2 separate regions of the Homo sapiens genome follow, and region 1 is linked to region 2. The links are contacts of gene promoters, found by promoter capture Hi-C in blood cells and fetal thymus (Javierre and others, 2016). All regions are on one chromosome and are shown on one strand. Each heading gives the region's core, a stretch centred on a gene start or on the middle of the fragment in contact. The rest is flanking DNA. Distances are from core to core; before and after follow the strand shown.

Evidence for each region. The method cuts DNA at HindIII sites, captures the fragments that hold promoters and counts their contacts. A CHiCAGO score of 5 or more calls a contact.
Region 1: a fragment that was not itself captured here is called in contact with the fragment with the promoter of LINC03040 in region 2 in 6 of 17 cell types (monocytes, erythroblasts, endothelial precursors and 3 more); the score reaches 12.2 in monocytes.

The regions. Positions count from the first base shown.
Region 1 is chr6:43,761,792-43,766,160 of GRCh38, reverse strand. No RefSeq gene overlaps it. Among named protein-coding and RNA genes, the nearest start is that of VEGFA, 6.2 kb to the left of the region's middle. RefSeq lists an enhancer at 888-1,389. The HindIII fragment of the contact is 1,063 bases long and covers 2,314-3,376 here.
Region 2 is chr6:43,999,332-44,003,686 of GRCh38, reverse strand. It overlaps LINC03040 (long intergenic non-protein coding RNA 3040), which reads right to left and starts at 3,102. Exons shown (of 3, transcript NR_160956.1): 1 at 2,987-3,102; 2 at 1,560-1,634; 3 at 1-1,006. SCIRT (stem cell inhibitory RNA transcript) reads left to right here. Exons shown (of 5, transcript NR_125864.1): 2 at 2,571-2,644; 3 at 2,972-3,096; 4 at 4,179-4,355. LOC124901321 (a long non-coding RNA gene) reads right to left here. Exons shown (of 2, transcript XR_007059591.1): 2 at 4,133-4,355. RefSeq lists a silencer at 754-923 and an enhancer at 2,846-2,995. The HindIII fragment of the contact is 11,725 bases long and covers 1-4,355 here.

The DNA.
Region 1 (4,369 bases), core at 1,596-4,095, 240 kb after region 2:
ATGTGGTGGCAACTAAGGTCCCAAAGCTGTATCTGCCCTTTTGACCTGGGCCTTGCCTGAGAGCTGAGCTAAGCTCCAATTTGTGAATATTTGTAGGGACTACCAGGCACCAGGCTCCATGCTGATTTTATAGGAGGTACAGGGACATCTAGGTAGGGCAGTGGAAAGTACAGGGACTTTGGATTCAAATGGACCCAAGTCACATTCCTGGCTCTGCCACTCACTGTGTGGCCTTAGGTTATTCAACCTCTCTGAGCCACAGCTCCCCTCATCAAAAATAGGAGTAAAAATCCCTGCCTTAGAGAGTTGCTGCACACAGACAAATGTGCACACAGCTGCCCCAGAAAGCAAGATGAGAAAGAGGCCCTGGGGGAGGCACAAGTGTTGTGAAGGTATGGAAGCAAAGAGCCAGACTGGCTAGAATGGGCATCTGGAAGGGCTTCCTGCAGGAGGTGGCTTGGGACATGTATTCCACAAGCAATTATTAAACTCAGCTTGTGATCTCTGCTTTGTGTTGCACCCTGGGACTACAACAGTGTCAGTGGGGGCTTCCTGTCTGGAGGTAAACCAAAGAGTAAACCAAAAATGGGAATTCTCTGAGGAGCATTTAATTGCTGGGAGTAGGGGAAGGCTTCCTGGAGATGATACTTGAGTTGGGTCTTTTTTTTTTTTTTTTTTTTTTGAGATAGGGTCTCACTCTGTCGCCCAGACTGGAGTGCAGTGGCGCCATGTCGGCTCACTGCAACCCCTGCCTCCCAGGTTCGAGCAATTCTCCTGCCTCAGCCTCCGGAGTAGCTGGGACTGCAGGTGCCTGCCACCACACCTGGCTAATTTTTGTGTTTTTAGTAGAGATGGTGTTTCACCATGTTGCCCAGGCTGGTCTCGAACTCCTGACCTCAAGTGATCGGCCCACCTCTGCCTCCCAGAGTGCTGGGATTACAGGCGTGAGCCACCGTGCCTGGCCTTGAGTTGGGTCTTGATGGAAGAGCAGGAGTTTAGCAAACCAAGTGGACTGCGCAAAGAGAACAAGCAAGGGAAGATACCCTGGAAGGTTCTGATGGCTCACACTGAGCCCTCCCAGTACTCCTCTGAGTGATAGAGACTTTGAGGCTAGGCAGGGCAAGGGATTAGGGCGTCTTCAGAAACATTCCCAGCCAAAGCCCACAGAGACAATGCTGCTCCCTCAGGGGGTGAGCTCCACACTGCCTTCCCCGCCCCCCGGGACAGTTTGTCTCTGTCAGAGAATTTAAACAAGCCAACACTAGTGGTAGGTCCAGCTCACACATGGAACACCACTGTTGCTTGCCCCAGGAGTGAGGGGAGGAGAGCAGAGGACACCAGCCTGTGACGAGCACAGGGCCACTCAGCTGGGCCAAGGCATAAAGCAGAAAGATACATTTCCTCCAGCTTTAATCCCTCACTTCATTACCTGGTACCCAGAGCCCTCCTGTCTACCTGTCACAGGCATGTGGCGACTTCGAAACAGCACTGGGCAAAAAAGTCCTGAGTCTGGCTGGGTGTGGTGGCTCACGTCTGTAATCTCAGCACTTTGGGAGGCCGAGATGGGCAGATCACCTGAGGTCAGGAGTTCAAGATCAGCCTGGCCAACATGGTGAAACCCTGTCTCTACTAAAAATACAAAAGTTAGCCAGGCGTGGTTGTGCATGCCTATAGTACCAACTACTTGGGAGGCTGAGGCAGGAGAATCACTTAAACCCAGGAGGCAAGTAAGCCAAGATGGCACCACTGCACTCCAGCCTGGGCGACAAAGCGAGACTCCGTCTAAAAAAAAAAAAAAATTTCCAGAGTCTGTTGCATGCTGTGTGACCTTGGCCGAGTCAGCTCCCCTTGCTGGACCTCAGGCTTCTCCTGGGTAAAGCATGAGGTTCCACTCCCTAAGCTCTGAGGCTCTGTGAGCCTGTAACATCTCCCTCAAACACTCCAGATGAGATGACTGATACCAAATGTCACATCTTCCAGGGCCTGTGTGTTTTAAAAGCCTCTTGGAGAGGGCAGTGCTTAACTCAAAGAAATCTAGCACTAGTGGTGAAATCTGGGGCTCAGCACCAAGTGATGGAAGGGAGAAGCAGTTCTTATGAACCCCTCAAATCCCAGCAGGTAGGGAACCGCTTCCTCTGTTACCTGAGATGCCAGACCTCTGTCCTTTCAGGAAAGACACCAGCTTGATGAACCCTCACTGTGAAAAGCCTCAGCCACCCACCCACTCCCCTTTCTCCACCCCACCACCCCCATAGCGAGTAATGGAAAAAGCCAGACAGGCTGGGTTTGATCTTGGTTCAACACTTCCAAGCTTTGAGACTTGGACAATTCACTTATCTTGTCTGAGCCTCAGTTTCCTCATCTGTAAAATGAGGTTCATGGTTCTTACCTCCCAGGGTTGTAGGGAAATATATGGAAACAGCAAACATCAGCTAAGCTCCTTGCCCAGAGTAGGTATCATATAAATGTTTTTCCCTTCCCTGTCTCCTGTTCCCACCCCCATTCGTGAGCAAACTCTTAGAGAATGCAAACCCACTATCATCTGGCTAAAGTAAAACAGAAACAAATAGGGAAATGGGTTTACCCCACCCCTGGTTAAAAAAAAAGAAAAGCAAGAAATTACATAATGCGTGCCAAAGATGACTAGGGGTTGGGGGATCTGTTGGCTTGGATCCTGCTTTAGTCTTTATTTGAAGCAACTATGTAACTAGGTTGTCACTGAGTTGACTGCAATGTGAGTTCCTTCGGGGAAGTCCCAGGAAAAAAAAGAGGCAGGGACCCAAGGCGCCCCCTACCTCCCAGCAAGAAGGGCCCCTTCCCCCAGCAGCCCCCTGGGCCTGGGCTGGAAGCTGGGGCGATGACCTGGGCCCCCCAGGATGGTTCACAAAGATAAAGCCAGTTAATGATTGGCCCCCTGATTGGCCCCCTGAGAGCTGAGCTAAGCTCCAATTTGTGAATATTTGTAGGGACTACCAGGCACCAGGCTCTATGCTGATTTTACAGGAGGTACAGGGACATCTAGGTAGGGCAGTGGAAAGTACAGGGACTTTGGATTCAAAGTCCCACCATACTCCCTGCTTTCCCAGACCCAGAAGTACAGGGCATGAGGAGTGGGGAGGCCTCCCCTCAGCTTCCAGGATCAGCCTGGCCCAATAGCCTCGAGATATTCAGGGAAGCAGGCAATTAGTCAGAGGATATCCATGTCAGGAGAACATCAGACTGTGCTCCTAGGAGTCTTGAGGGTCCTCAGAGATGGGACAGGTAGCAGGAAGGTGTGGGAGTGGGCAAACACAGTACATGCAGTTTTATCTGCTTCATTTATTGGCCCCTCACTTGGAATTTCATTTGAGGAAAAGTTTCCACTGCTAAAGAAGCTTACTGGCCAGAGGAGCAGAAGGAAGCCCAGAGTTGTCCAAAGCCGGAGCGCTGCATAGAGTCAAGACCTCAACCCAGATCACTCAACTCACAGCCTGGGGCTCTTTCTACCTCCCCAGGCCACTTCATCATTTAATCGGGGCCCAGCACTGAGCCAGGCACCTTTGGGATACACTGGGCTTCTGCCTCTAAGAGCTGACTGGCTGGGTGGGGAGCCAGGCAGTGCCAGAGAGGAGGTGCTAGAACTAGATGCCGCGTGCATAGGAGTGTGTCAGCAGCTGACCCAGGGATCTGTTGTTTGCTCCTCCTTCCCTAGAGGGGCTCAGCACTCCCTTACTCCAGGCAGTGCCCTGCAGAGGCCACAGCTAAACCATTCCCTACTGGGGTCTCCTGGAGAGATGGTCCCGCCTACATCTCCCTGCATGCCAGCCTGCTTATCCAGACCCATCTCCTTCCAGAACACAGCTGGAAGCATCAGGAGAAGTGAGGCAGGGCATGCTCAGAGCTGCTGTGCCTGCTGCCAGCTTCTCCAAGTTCCAGGACCTGGTCGCAGTCAGCTCCAGCTGTGGGGCACAAGGCCCCTGCGGAGCTCAGGATGATGGCCAAAACATTTAACACCTGCTATGGCTCAGGCACAGTTCACATAGAGCTGACGGCGTATGCCAAGCCAGACATAAACCTCAATTTCTGGATGGTGGAGAGGTCCAGGGGACCAAGTAAGGGACTGGGGTGGCCAGAGAGGCACAGGGGGAACTCAAGGACTGGAACAACAGCTATTTACCAATCAATCAGGAGGCGTGCTGGGGTACACCAGGTGAATGTCTGCCCTGCCCCAGTCCGCTCTTGACTCTAGGCTGGAATGTGCAGCTCCCTGCTGAGAATGAGGCCTGTCTGGGTCCCTGGTCTGCACGCCTCCCTACCTCCTCCTCTCTTGGAAAGGCCAGGCCAGGACTCCCCACTAATCTTCATGCATAAGTGTAGCCCACACCCAACA
Region 2 (4,355 bases), core at 1,853-4,352:
AGCCACCTCACTCCTCACCAGCTCCCCTATGGCGGCCACAGCTGGCCAGCAGGCGGGGCCTCCGTGTCTGTGGCGGGGATGTCACCTTTCTTCGCAGGAAGGTAATTTCCCCGCCAGGGGAGGGAGTCCGTCGTGCTGCTCATAAAGCCACTGTTAAACGAGCGGGTCTGGGAGTTCTGGCTGGGCGGACTTCCCTTCCCTTCTCCGTGCCTCAAGTGCCAAACGGGGGTACTGCTGCCCTGCGTGCCTTTGCCACTCCTCCCACTGAAGGCTAACTTTCCAATAGACCTCACTGTTTCTGTCAACGAAATAGGTCCCTGGCCCCTCCCCACTCTCCCAGTCTCTTCCAGCAGAGACCTTCCAGGACTGTAGGTTTAGGGGAGTGGAAGGGCCGGCTTCGGTCTCCCCAAGTTCTGCCCCCAGTGAGGCCTCATAGCTCTCCTGGGACTGAGGGGCAGTCCCAGAGGGCGGCAGGAGTTGGCAGCCAGTGGTCCTGGGGACCGCGAGGTGGGTGGGTGGAGGGTGGCGAAGGGAGGGTTCCGGGACCGGGGAGCGGCGTCTTAATTACGGCGCGTTGGCCCAGCGCCGCGGAGCGCCGCGGATGACAGCGGCGGTGGGTAATTAGAGCGCATTAGCCGTGCCCCTGCAATCCTGTAATTTCTTCTCGCGCTCGGGGTGTGTTGTAGGAGGCGAAGCGATGCCGGCTTGGCTGAGTCAGACTCTCGGAAGCCCAGGAGGGGACGCAGGGGGCGGCAGAGGCCGCGAAGAAGGGACTCCCGCCGGGGGAGGCGCAGACGCAGTCCTCTAGGAGTCACCTGTCCCGGGCTCCTCGGCGCGCGCGCCCCGTCGGCGGCGGGAGGTGGTGGGAAGGGGGCGTGACCTGCGTCTCCTCCCGCCGCCGCCGCCGCCGCCGCCGCCGCGCGCTCTACCGGCCCGCGAGTCCTCCGCGACATCCGGGCCAGCGTCTGCACCCAGCCACGTGTCCTGCCCCTGGTGCGCAGGTGGACTGGAAAAGAGGAAGGCAAACGCAGTGGCTAGGCGGAGACCTCCCAAATCCCACGTCTCCCCGAGAATCCCCGACGGGCTACAGACCTAGGGCAGCCATAAGAAAAAACGTCAGCTACATCTCGAGGGAGTGGGGTGGAGTGCGGGCGCTTGCTCTAGTCGAGCCCTGACATCGATTCTGCGGGGGCGGGGAGGAGTCGGCGCGGGGCTGGGGCTGGGAGGGGAGTTTATTTATTAGCCAGATTAGCCAGCATTAATGGGGGAGCGGTGGCGGCCGGCGGCAGCAGGGACATAGCTGGCATAGCTGGCATAGCGGCGGGGCCTCCTGCGGCGCGGGGCTCCGCGGCTTCAAAGGGGCTTAAAGAGGCCCTTGGTGGCACTGCCACGGCCCCGCGGGGGAGGGCGTGGGCGCGGGCGGCGGGGGAGAAGGCGGCCATTGTGCACCGAGGGATTAGGGCTCTGGCCTGGAAGGAATTTTAAACTGCCGCGAGCCGGAGCCCCAGGACTCTCCTCCTGCCCCACCCCTGCCCTCCGGAGCACGCTGAGGTGTTTACCTGCTTTCCTATGTCTGGGGTGGAGGGGGTGTCCTCTCTCCTCCCTCAAACTGGAGGCACCTAGGGTTACCAGATCTGGCAAATAAAAACACAAGACTTCCAGTTAAACTGGATACTTTAAATAGTGTAAGTCTGTCCCAAATATTGTATGGGACAGACTTATGCTAAAATATTATTCGTTGTTTATCTGATATTCAATTTAATTGGACGTCTTGTATTTTTTTTCCTGGCAGCCCTTGAGGCATTGAAATCTCTAATCCATGTCTGGAAACAGATTGATGGTTCCCGAAAGTCCAGTGGGTATGCCTCATTTGAGAGATCCCTAAGGGCAGGGTCGTGTCTCTCCCCTTACACTGGGAGTTTCCTGAAGCCCAGATACTGAGTTTCACCCTAAAGAAGGCAGCTCTGAGAGCACTATATGTGTCCCCCGTCAGACTGGGAGCTTCCTGAGGACAGGGGCTAAATTTCACCCATGAGAGTAACGCTTCAAGGTCAGTGTCTGTGACCTGTGACACTGGGGTTTCCTGAGGCATGGTCTGTCCGCTTCCTAGAGGGCAAGTCTCTCTCCTCCCTCACGTCTCACTCTCCCACCCCCACCCCACCCCAGGCTGCTGGAGGCTCCTCCTCCATTAGTGTTGCTTCCTGCCCATAGGGGGTGCTAGGGGCCCAGCGGACTGGCCTACGGATGGATGGGACCTGTTTATTGGGACTCGGGGCTTCAGTCCTTCGGGGTTGATGCACTTGAGAATAATGAGGGTGGGGTCCCCAACCTGTGAGGCTTGCTGAGGCAGTTGAGGGCCAGGTCTACTGGGGCCAGAGGCGGTGGCCAGCATGTGGGAGAAGCTCTGGGTGCTGGGTACCCACTGTTTCTTCCAGGAAGGGACAGTGTGGCCCTTGGTACAGAACATCCTGCCCACCTCCTCTCATAACCATTGAAGCCAAGCCCCAGTCCTCCACCAGCCTCTCCAGACCCCACTGCCTAACCTTTGCTTGTGCTGTTCTTTCTGCCAGAAACACTCTGTCTTCCTGCTTTGAGGACAGCTGAAGTCTTGCCACTTCTTCTGGATGCTCTGACCATCAGTAAGGTGGGCTGCTTGTGCCTGGGGGTCTTCTGGTGAAAAGAGCCCTCCATCTACTCCCTCCTTCCTCAACAACTTTGGCCACAGGGGCCAAAGAGGGGGCCAAGGTGGGGGAGGGGAGAGACAGGAACATTGGGGGAGCATAGGCAGAAGGGGAGTAAGAATAGGAACCTCCTTCCCCCCAACCCATCCCCCTGAAGCCCCTTCACAAGTCCCTTCATCCCCTCAGGGCCTCTGAACTCTTTCTCCTTGAAGCTGAGGGAAGCCCTGGAGAAGCGCTTTCCCACGGTCACAGCCTCAACAAACCCCTGCCCCCTTCTCCTTTGACTGCAGCCACCTCAGTCTCACCCTCCGCAGAATGCAGGCCCACTCCGTTGCTGAAGGGCCTCCTCCTTGGGCCAGGGCGCCTGCTTCTGCCAGTGGCATCATCACCCCACTCCTCAGCCGCCAGTCATCAGGTTGGCAATTAGCTACTTCCTCTCAGCTGCATGAGGCCACCAAACGTCACAGCCCCTCCCCTGGCCTGCCGCGGCGGGAGTGCTGGGGGCTGCCCCTACCCTTTGTAGTCAGTGCCAAGTCCTGGCTCAGTCCCCCTTCCCTACAACCTACTGAGTGCTAGGGTAATGAGCCTCCCATCTAGGGAGCTGAAAGCCTCGCTGCCTTCTCCCCGCTTCAAACCTCCTCCCCCATGTCACCCTATCCCATTGGGTGAGGACACTCCCGCTGCCTGGGTGGGGTGATGCCTGCTCAAGGGCACTAGCAGCCTGGGTGGGGCTTAAGACTCAGGTGTCTCTGTCCCCAGTCACAGGCGGTTTTCACCAGCCCCTTACCTGGGGCCCAGGAGTCTGAACTGAAGATGGTGGCAGTTATTTGGGAAGGGGAGAGAAATGGGGACTCATTCTACAGACCCCCAAACATGCAGGGGGCAGGCCCTTCATGAACACCCACATGGGCTCATTTGCCTGTGTCTAGGCACACACACGGTTACAATCTAGGCAATGTATGCTCCACTGCACTGTACCCACATGTGCCCCAGGTGGGCAAGTAAGCCCACTTGCCCAGATACCTCTCATGCCCACACATCCCTCCTCCAGGTGTGTGCATGCAAACTCACTGACATACAGTACTCAAAAAGGCAGTGAGCTTGCTGCCACACCAAAAACAAAACCGGGACCCTACAGAGGAATCTAGAAGCATGGGAGGGAAGGAGAGACCACCCCAACACTCGCTACCCCACAGACCAGGGAATCTTCCTGGGGAAGGATGGGAGGAAGTCTGCACTTCAGGGATATGTGTGGGGTACGCAGGTGGGCCGTGGTGGAAGCAGTTGTGTTGGAGTCTGGGTTGGGGGTGGAGGATGTGGATTTCCAGAGAGAATTGAAAAATTCCAACACATATAAACAAAGGCATGTGATCTTAGGCAGATCACTTAACTTCTTGGGGGCCCCAGTGACTGCATCTGTAAAATGGGAATAATGAGAACACCATTTAAACTTGGTTGTCAAATTTATTTTATTTTTATTTATTTATTTATTTTTAGAGACACGGTCTGACTTTGTTACCCCGGCTGGAGTGCAGTGGTGCAATCATGGCTCACTGCAGCCTTAACCTCCTGGGCTCAAGTGATCCTCTCGCCAAGGCTAGGATAAGTAGCTAGGACTACAGATGCGCCCCATCACGCCCAGCTAATTTTACAACTTCTGTAGAGATGGAGTGT